Regions from separate parts of the Homo sapiens genome. Here all the other regions are linked to region 1. Evidence: promoter capture Hi-C in 16 types of primary human blood cells and fetal thymus (Javierre and others, 2016). All regions are on one chromosome and are shown on one strand. The core of a region is centred on a gene start or on the middle of the fragment in contact, and the rest is flanking DNA. Distances in the headings are between cores, read along the strand shown. Region 1 holds the start of ABCA8 (ATP binding cassette subfamily A member 8). Region 2 overlaps ABCA10 (ATP binding cassette subfamily A member 10). Region 3 overlaps ABCA5 (ATP binding cassette subfamily A member 5).

Region 1 (3,129 bases), core at 105-2,604:
TTCGTTTTATTATTATACTTTAAGTTTTAGGGTACATGTACACATTGTGCAGGTTAGTTACATATGTATACATGTGCCACGCTGGTGCGCTGCACCCACTAACTCGTCATCTAGCATTAGGTATATCTCCCAATGCTATCCCTCCCCCCTCCCCCCACCCCACAACAGTCCCCAGAGTGTGATGTTTCCCTACACTCCACCTCATGCACAAGCCCAAATATATCACAGCTTCTCTACAGAAATGCATAATTCACTGGCGAAGTTAATAGACATTGGCCAAGAGGATGATCTCCTCACTATGGAATCAGCTACAGTCTTAGGTAGCATGCAAACTCCAGTCTGACTCCAATCCCTTATATCTTCCATCGTAAAGTATTATTGCCAACTTTGTTTCTTTCCAATTTTTGTATGTTCTGCAGTTTATGTAAAGGCTAGCAAAAACATGAATACTTTATTATACATATGGCAAATAGTCTCAAATTGTAATGACTCATTTTTATCCTCTTATACTGTTGTAAAATTCAGAACAACATGTATTCACTATAGGAGTATGAAAATTCTTTTTACCAATGTACATTTTAAATAACATTGTGGTAAAGAGAAGCTACATATTTCACATTCTGATTCAACTCACTGTATCCAACGAGTAAAAGATCCTAGAAAGAATCTTACATTTCTAAAATTCTTATAGACTAAGAGTGAGCGATAGGAACAATAAAAATATTTCTGTAAGTGCTCTTGGTAAACAGTCTTAAAGTCAGAAGAACACTTATCCAAAATGCCCTACATTATTGTGCAATCAAAGTAGATAACTTTAACTTCAAAAACAACTCAGTCTTCCAACCCAATTCTTAAAACTCTAAGCTCTTCACAAAAAATTTTTAGCCAATTTAAACTTATTTCTACACTCAGTTATGTTTAAAACAACATAATGTTTGCATAATTTTTTAAAAAACATTCTAACTCAATGTTTTTATTTATCTAATATTAATTACCAGATATAAAATCTTTAAAGTAGCCCAATATTTTTCAAAATAATTTCTGCATAGATGATTGTCATTCAGTTTATAAAGGTTTATTTATAATTTTGTGATAGGAATAAGAAAAGACAAAACCTCTGAAACAAACTCACACACAAAAGCAAAATACAAAACAAAACAGAAAAAATACAGTGAACTTACTTCTGGGAAAATGGAAGCAAGGAATCTAGAGGTATGGTTTATCCACTGAGCTCCTTGTTTAGAAGAAAGTTATTCATATTTTCTCCTGGTCTCTACCATGTATCTAGAATTTGCTTTAACTATTTGACTTCTGTGAAAAGTTTCTGTGAAGACTGCTTTCAGAGTGGAGGTTATGATCTCAATTCTGTTGGCCCTGCCAAACATCACATTCACGTCATCATGCTTGGACTGTTTGTCTTCTCATTGATATTCGGCCAGTTCCTGCAGAGCAGTGGCATTTATACTGGGTTGCCTGGCTATATCATATTATAGGGAGCAATTTCTCTTTTACGTCCAAGATTATTGTGGCTAATACCAAAATTTAAAGTGCTGTCTTTAAGCCATGAGAAAGTAAACAGCTTAATCAGAGAAAAGCTCTTCTCTCTACCCAGAGCTCTAGTCTGCTTAATTGACAGCTTTACCTAGATAATCAAAATTTTCATTCCTCTGCTTCCCAGCTTCATTTTCACTCAGTTCAGACTATTTTCCAATTTATTTGACCCACGGATTAATCAGAAATGTGCTTAATTTCCAAGTGTCTGAAGATTTTCTTATCTTTTGGTTATTGATTTAATTTTAAATCAGAAGTTCAATTATACTCAGAAAAAATATTTTGTATGTCAAATTTGTTAAGGCTTATTTGATGACCCAGGATATGATCTATCTTGGCAGATATTCCATAGGCACTTGAAAAGTTGTATAGTTTTTTGGTGTTGAGTGGAATATTATATAATATCTATTACATTTAGTTGGTTGATGATATTGTTCAGTTTTTTCTATATTTTTCCTAATTTTCTGTCTCCTAGTTCTGTTGATTACTAAGAGAGGAATGTTGAAGATTTTAACAAAACTTAGGGACTTTCAAATTTCTCCCTTTAAAACTATCATGTTTTGCCTGATGTATTTTGCAACATTTGGAATTGTTATGTCTTCTTGGTGAATTGACCCTTTTATCATTATGTAATGTTAATCTTTATCTCTAGTAACTTTTGTGTTCTAAAGTCTACTTTGTTTCATATTAATAATATAGCCATTCTTACTTTCCTGTGATTATTGTTTTCGTGGTATTTTGTTTTCATCCGTTTATTTTTATCTACACACACACACACACACACACACACTATATGCTTTCAGAGTGGCAGTTATGATCTCAATTCTGTTGGCCCTGCCAAACATCACATTCATATTATATGTGTATGCGTGTGTGTGTATGTGTGTGTGTGCGTCTGTGTTTGTTATTATTTTTTTAAGATGATGGTCTTGCTATGTTGCCAAGGCTGGACTTGAACTCCTGGGTTCAAGTGATCTTCCCATCTCAGACTCCTGAGTAGCTGAAACTACAGATACATGCCACTATACCCAGCTCTAAATTGTATTTCAAGTGAGTTTCTTGTAGATGGCATATAATAGAGTCATGAGTTTGGTTTTTAAAATCCAATTTGACAATGCACATCTTTTAATGGGTGTGTTTAAATTATTTTCATTTTATGTAGCTATTGATTTTTAAAATCAGATCTGCCATTTTGTTATTTGCTTCTTTTCTCTCTGGTTTTAATTCTCCTATTTCCCATTTTCTGCTTTCTTGTTGGTTATTTGAAATTATTTTTTGGTATTGCATTTCAACGTATCTATTATGTTTCTTAACTGTATCTATTTGTATAGTTATTTTAGTGGTCACTCTCAGGATTACAAAAGACATACTTAACTTGACATGCTTTACCCAGAATTAATATTTCTTCATTTTAAGTGAAATATATAAACCTTACTATGATATACAGACAAAATAGGAAGGAGGTCAACAAGGGTGCTGCTCAGTAACTATATAACCAGAAGGGGAAGAAATAGAGGAGTAAGAGGCTCAACATGGTCTCCATCACCCCAATAAAAAGTCATGATCTCTTGCTCAGCT
Region 2 (3,132 bases), core at 227-2,726, 260 kb after region 1:
AGATATATATATAAATGCATAGACTATATAGATGGAGAGAGATGTCTTTTACCATGCACTAACAAACACCGAACACTGTTTGTGCTGTGTGATTTAAACATATTGCCTCATTTAATCCTGATACCGTTTGATGAATTCCAACCAAATAACATTTTTACAGACTATGTGACCGGGCCTCAGTGACACTGTGGTAAATTCCTTTATTGCCCAAAATTATTTGAACTTTTTTCTGCTCCTCACTGTTATGAAAAGCAGCATAATTTCCCATGTCACTAAATGTGAGGTTGTCACTTTGACTAGCTTTGACCTCATGGTGGGCAGAACACACTTCTTCCCCTCTTGACTTTAGTTCTGTCCATGTGACTTACTTTAATGAGATTTTATTATATATGATGTGAGCAGGAGCTTGAAATGTGCTTGTGCAGAGAGACTTGCCCCCTTGTGTTTCTGTGATTGAATGAGAAGACCATGGCCAGCTAGCCTACTGGCCCAAGAAGGAAGTGAGTCACAGGAAGAACACCTGGATCTAACCTGTACCTTGAATCCAAGCCTGGCCAAGCCCAGACTAGATCTGCCAAAGTCCACCCATACTGCAGACAAATGAGAAAGAATAAATAATTGCTGCTTGAGGTCGTGGGGTTTGGGGTGGTTTTTATGCGGCATTTTTCGGGCAATATGTAATGATCACATATTTTTCTTCAACTCAGGGAAACATAAGCACAATCCTTACTTACTTTCTACTGCAAGCATCTTAAACTCTAATGCAAGTAAGGTGATTAAATTGAATACGTGCAAGAAAACTTGTGAGTGCGTCCAATTTTTTAAGAACCTAGTTAGTTTCTCTAATAATTAATGTATGATATACAGTAAAGTAGCAACTTAACTTACCAGAATGCTGACTCTCGGAGACCCATCACTGTCATCAGTTTCTTAAATTTTCCTCTTTCCCTTGCAACATTTAATGATGCAAAGTATATAAAAGAAGAGAAAGAAACTAAGCAAGTAAAATGAAACCATTCATTCATAATTTCTCCCTTAGAAATGAAAGGTGGTATCTTCATATTTATTCCAATAACTGATGTCAACTCCTCCATTACAGAATGATTTGTTGTGACCTAAATTGGGACATTAGCAAATTTATTATGTGAACTATAGACAAAATATATTAGAAAACTATACACTTTTTATTTTCGATTTCAATATTTACATATTCTCATCATTTTAAAGTATGAACTATTAATATCAGAACAATCTTAATAACTTTTGATACCAATTGACATTAATTATAAGAGTCATTTGAGAAATTACTGAAGGTCTGTCATGCATAATATACTGTGCTACGTAATGGGGAAACAGCAGCAATTCAAACAGAAACACTCTTCATTCTCATAGAGATTTACATTTTGTAGCGCAGCAGAAGAAAGGAGAGATATTAAATAAATCATTGCATAATAAATTGTTTAGTTACAATTGAGCAACTATGTTCAAAGAAAAGTGTAGGAAAATCAAGAAAGGCTTCCCTAAAGAAGTGACATTTTTACTGAGTGTTGAAGGCTGTGATCTTTCCTAAACAAAGATTGGGGGAGGGGGGGTGGTTGAGGATGGAGAAGAAAACTGTGAGCAGAGTAAACAGTATATGAAAAGGAAAGAAGGTGTATAGTGCGTTGGAGCACAGAAAAGAGGTTCCTGCCACAAAAACAAATAAATAGACTGTAGATAAGGCTGAAGAAATAAACCACTCCCATAGTTTAGGCAAGATATGATAAAGATGTGCCCTTGTGCAGGTGGCAGAACTGAAGTACATAGATTTGAGCTTAGAAATAAGAGGCCAGGTAAAAGATTGGATGTGATGAGTGAGACAGAGAAAATTTTCTCTGATAATCCCCAGTTCCTTTTACTCAGCTAGGTGGTTTTAGCATTCACTGAGATAGGGAAAATTTTATAAGACTCAGTCACATTTACAGAAAAACATCCATGTTCATTTTTGCGCATACTAAGTTTGAATTGCTTGAGACATCAAAGTAGAGGTATCCAGCACACAGTCAGATACATGGAGCTAGAGCAGACGTCTAGCTCTTTTAGTCCCTAGCTCCTTTAGAGGTCAGCAAACTTTAGTTCCCAGACCAAATCTGACCCACCACCTGTTTTTGTATATAACATTTTATTGAACACAGGCACACTCATTTGTTTGTGTTATCTACAGCGGCTTTCATACTACAACAGCAGAGGTGAACAGTTACAACACATTTGGCCCCCAGAGCCTAAAATATTTACTGTGTGGTCCTTTACAGAAAAATGTTGCTAGTCTACAAGTTAGAGTTCTTGGAGTCATCAGCATATAAATTATAATGAGAAGTACGGGAATAAATGAGACCATCTAGAGAAAACATATGGGATAGAAAGAGATGCCTGAGATAGAACTTTGTGGAACTACAGATAGAAAGATGTAGGAGTGTAAGGGGAGATAAGTTGGCAAGAAGACTGAGAGGGAAAGGCTAGAAATGGAGAAGGGAAATCAGGTGAATCTATGTTATTTAGTTGAAATATCAAGTAAGGTGAGGAATAAAGAAGCTGTTAATTGACATGGAAGTTGTTATTTACCTTAGAAAAAGCCCTTTTGATGGTGTGGTAGGGATAGATAATATTGAGTTGAGTTGAGTCAAAGGAGGACAACCCTTTCAAGAAACTTAGCCATTAATAGAAGGAAGTTAGGGTAGTTGTGTGAAGAGGAAAGTGGATAAAGGAAGGTCTTGACCATAAGTGAAGAAATTAATTTTAAATCCTGAAGAGAAGAATCTAGCAGAAAGGCAGAGATTGAAAAGAGGAGACAAAAACAAAAGTCCATAGTTGAACTTTGCTGATGAAGTTGGGAGGGATGGGATCCAGACCATGAACTGAGGAAAGACATTAGGGATGAAGAAAGAGAATGTGTGTAGGGGGTCATAGGTCTGTAGTTTTACAGGGTTTATGTTAGAAGTTGGGAGATATTCCCATGTGACAGCTTTTGTTTTCTCTGAGGATGACAGGCAAAGTATCACCTCCTAAGAGTGTAAGAGTAAGGTAGGGGATGAGGCAGATATTTAAAAAGAGGGAAGAATACAGATTTAAAATATAGCTTTGAAGTTAGGCACT
Region 3 (3,153 bases), core at 37-2,536, 300 kb after region 1:
AAGTATGACAACAAATAAATTTTAAAATTGATGCCTTTTCATGTTATAACCAAAACAGGCTTTGAATCATAAGAAAACCGTAACATGCATCCAAACCAAACCTTACATTTTATAGACATGGAAGTTGAGGCTTAAAGAGTTGTTCAAGGCCAGGCACTGTGCCTCACACCTGTAATCCCAGCAGTTTGGGAGGCCGAAGGGGGCGGATCACCTGAGGTCTGGAGTTCGGGACCAGCCTGGCCAACATGGTGAAACCCTGTCTCTACCAAAAATACAAAAAATTAGCCGGGCTTGGTGGCTCTTGCCTGTAGTCCCAGGTACTTGGAAGGCTGAGGCAGGAGAATCGCTTCAGCCTGGGAAGCAGAGGTTGCAGTAAGCCAAGACGGCACCACTGCACTCCAGCTTGGTCAACAGAACAAGACTCTGACTCAAAAAAAAAAAAAAAAAAAGAGTTGTTCAACTAATTAGTACTTTACAGGCACTGCATAATGACATTTCAGTCAATGATGAAACACATTTCCAACAGTGATTCCATAAGATTATAATACTTTTATAATGTATCTTTTCTGTGTTTAGATACATCTAGATACACAAATACCATTGTGTTACAACTGCCTACAGTATTCAGTGCAGTGACATGCTCTACAGATTTATAGCCTAGGAGTAATAGGCTATACCATATAGTCTAGGTGTGTAGTAGGCTATAACCACCCAGAGATTTATATAAGTACACTCTATTATGTTTGCACAACGACAACATCACCTTTCTCAGAATGTATCTCTGTCATTAGGCAATGCATGACTGTCCTAGAAAGAGTCTCAACATAAATTTAAGACACTATTATTATGGAAAAGATCATTTGTATGCTAAATGACTAGAAAAAAACTTAAAAACTATTCAGAACACTAGAACTCTTTATCTTAATAATGACTCATGCTTATTTCTGTTTCGGAATATGTAAAATATTATGAACACTTCATGAAAAATATGCAAAGTTTTAAAAGCTTAAGGAAATCTCTAAATCTATTTAATTTTTAATTACTAGTGTATCGTTTGAATAGGATTTAAAATCAAGATGTACATATAACTAACATTAAACTATTATAATAAAAGAAACTGTTCTATTCTAAAGTATCATGTACTGTGTCACAAGTACCATACTCACCACATGTGCTGTTTGGCTTTGGGATCCATACCTGTAGATGGTTCATCTAGCAAAGTAATCTGAGGATTCCCTAGCATACTTAGAGCAAAACACAACTACATGGAAAGAAAAAGATGGGTGGGAAATTAACAAAGGTTCACTATAAGGAATCTATCAAGACAATATCAGGTACTAAACTATCAATAAAAATACAGGCATTATTTGGTGTTTAATGAAAGTACCTTTCGTTTGATTCCTGCAGGTAGTTTCTTTACAGTCTTCTGAAGATGTTCTTTTAAATCAAGTGCATGTGTTATTCTGCAAAATGAACAATACAAAATGAGAATACCATGATATATATAAACACAAATACCAACTGGGTGTGATCCCTGATGTTGTTTTCTCTAGAATAGTTACTTAGTCGAAGCTTATTATAAGTAGGTAAGGGCAAAAGTCTCCAATTTACATCATTTTAAATAAATTAATATCTTGATAAAATGGTTCACTTTGAATTAAAATAAGTTTCATGATATCTATAGGTATATTTATCCTGTAACTAGAAATTAAAAAATGACCTTTTTATAACTATCATAATTTACAGCTATCAGTATATTTTCATATATCATAAAGAATATATGAAAAAGTAATAAACATTTTCTATAAAAATCATTGTCCACAGAAATGCTTGTTATGAAATTTTAAAAATATGAAATGCAAACCTTTCCTCTAAGTAACAAAAGGAATCTAAAGACAATTATTTTACCGACTTATGACTTCTTTCATGTCACTTGCACTCATTCCTTTGACAGCTCCATAAATTTCAAAATGTTCCTGCAATGTAGTATCTGGCCACAAAGGGTTTATCTGAGGACAGTAACCCATACACTTCAGTGAATCATCATCTTCACTTGTCTCTGAAGAATAATCTCCTAAAAATACCTATAGAAACACAAACCAATTTTTATTATTTTGCTTAATTTACACTGTGAAGGAAGTGGCAAGTACATTAATTAAAACCCCTTCCTACAGCCAGACTAATATCAAGTCAGATTTGTACTCCTTTATTGTCATTATTATTATTATCACTAAGTAACTGAGACTACAAACATGTGCCACCATGCCTGGCTATTGCTTTTTTCTTTTTTGAATTTTAGGAGGGAAGATGTCTCACTACGTTGCCCAGGCTAGTCTTGAATTCCTGAGCTCAAGTGATCCTCCTGCCTCAGCCTCCCAAAGTGCTGGGATTACAGGAATGAGCCACTGCACCCGCCCAGATGTTTTACTCCTTTTTGATGTTTGATGATGGAAGGACATATAAAGCTAAGTCAGAGTTCAGAGACTTGGTCAGAAAGGGTAATACAGAGTTGGATGAAAAAGCAAGATGTAATTCTAATGATCAGGGAGCTTCACTGGAAGGTGACATTTGAGCCAAAGAGGTAAGTGAATTTAGTATATGTATTTCTAGGGTATAAGGTATAGCCAAACAAAGAAAACATCTTGGGCAAAAACCCAAAGAAAAGAGTATGCCTGGCATTTTCCAGGAAAGCAATGAGTTAGTGTGGCTGGCATAAAGTAAGCAAGGGGAGAGAAGCAGGAAATGGGATCAGGGTAGTTTTGTGAAGTATCCACAAAGTGGTCAGTGACATGCTTATAATAAAAGACTAGCTGATGGCAGGTCAAAACAAGCTCCCATATCTCCTGAAGCTAATAAAACTGTCTTCCATTAAGTTGGTAGACAAATAACTCACGCATGTAAGCATTACAAAAGCAGAAATACTGTATATGCGTGTGTCTACATGTGTCTATGAAAATTTCACCATGCACATTATTTTTACAGATAACCCAAAAGATCATAATTTGATCAGGCTGTACAAAAAATTCTAAAAATATACATAAAAATTGAATATAAAATCCGAATTTGTCACTAAAAGTTTATGTTAATTAACAATATAAATCACATTCAACATATCCTATACTCTTATATATCATACCTGGCCTGAAGTTGGTT

Evidence for each region. The method cuts DNA at HindIII sites, captures the fragments that hold promoters and counts their contacts. A CHiCAGO score of 5 or more calls a contact.
Region 2: a contact is called between a fragment that was not itself captured here and the fragment with the promoter of ABCA8 in region 1, in 2 of 17 cell types (monocytes and M2 macrophages). The highest score is 7.2, in monocytes.
Region 3: a contact is called between a fragment that was not itself captured here and the fragment with the promoter of ABCA8 in region 1, in 1 of 17 cell types (M0 macrophages). The highest score is 5.0, in M0 macrophages.

The regions. Positions count from the first base shown.
Region 1 is chr17:68,954,038-68,957,166 of GRCh38, forward strand. ABCA8 (ATP binding cassette subfamily A member 8) reads right to left here and starts at 1,355. Exons shown (of 40, transcript NM_001288985.2): 1 at 1,182-1,355. The HindIII fragment of the contact is 10,640 bases long and covers 1-3,129 here.
Region 2 is chr17:69,218,657-69,221,788 of GRCh38, forward strand. ABCA10 (ATP binding cassette subfamily A member 10) reads right to left here. Exons shown (of 39, transcript NM_001377321.1): 6 at 889-1,115. Among named protein-coding and RNA genes, the nearest start is that of ABCA10, 8.6 kb to the right of the region's middle. The HindIII fragment of the contact is 6,702 bases long and covers 1-3,132 here.
Region 3 is chr17:69,252,407-69,255,559 of GRCh38, forward strand. ABCA5 (ATP binding cassette subfamily A member 5) reads right to left here. Exons shown (of 39, transcript NM_172232.4): 31 at 3,137-3,153; 32 at 1,909-2,084; 33 at 1,388-1,463; 34 at 1,167-1,261. Among named protein-coding and RNA genes, the nearest start is that of PRO1804, 19 kb to the left of the region's middle. The HindIII fragment of the contact is 567 bases long and covers 1,004-1,570 here.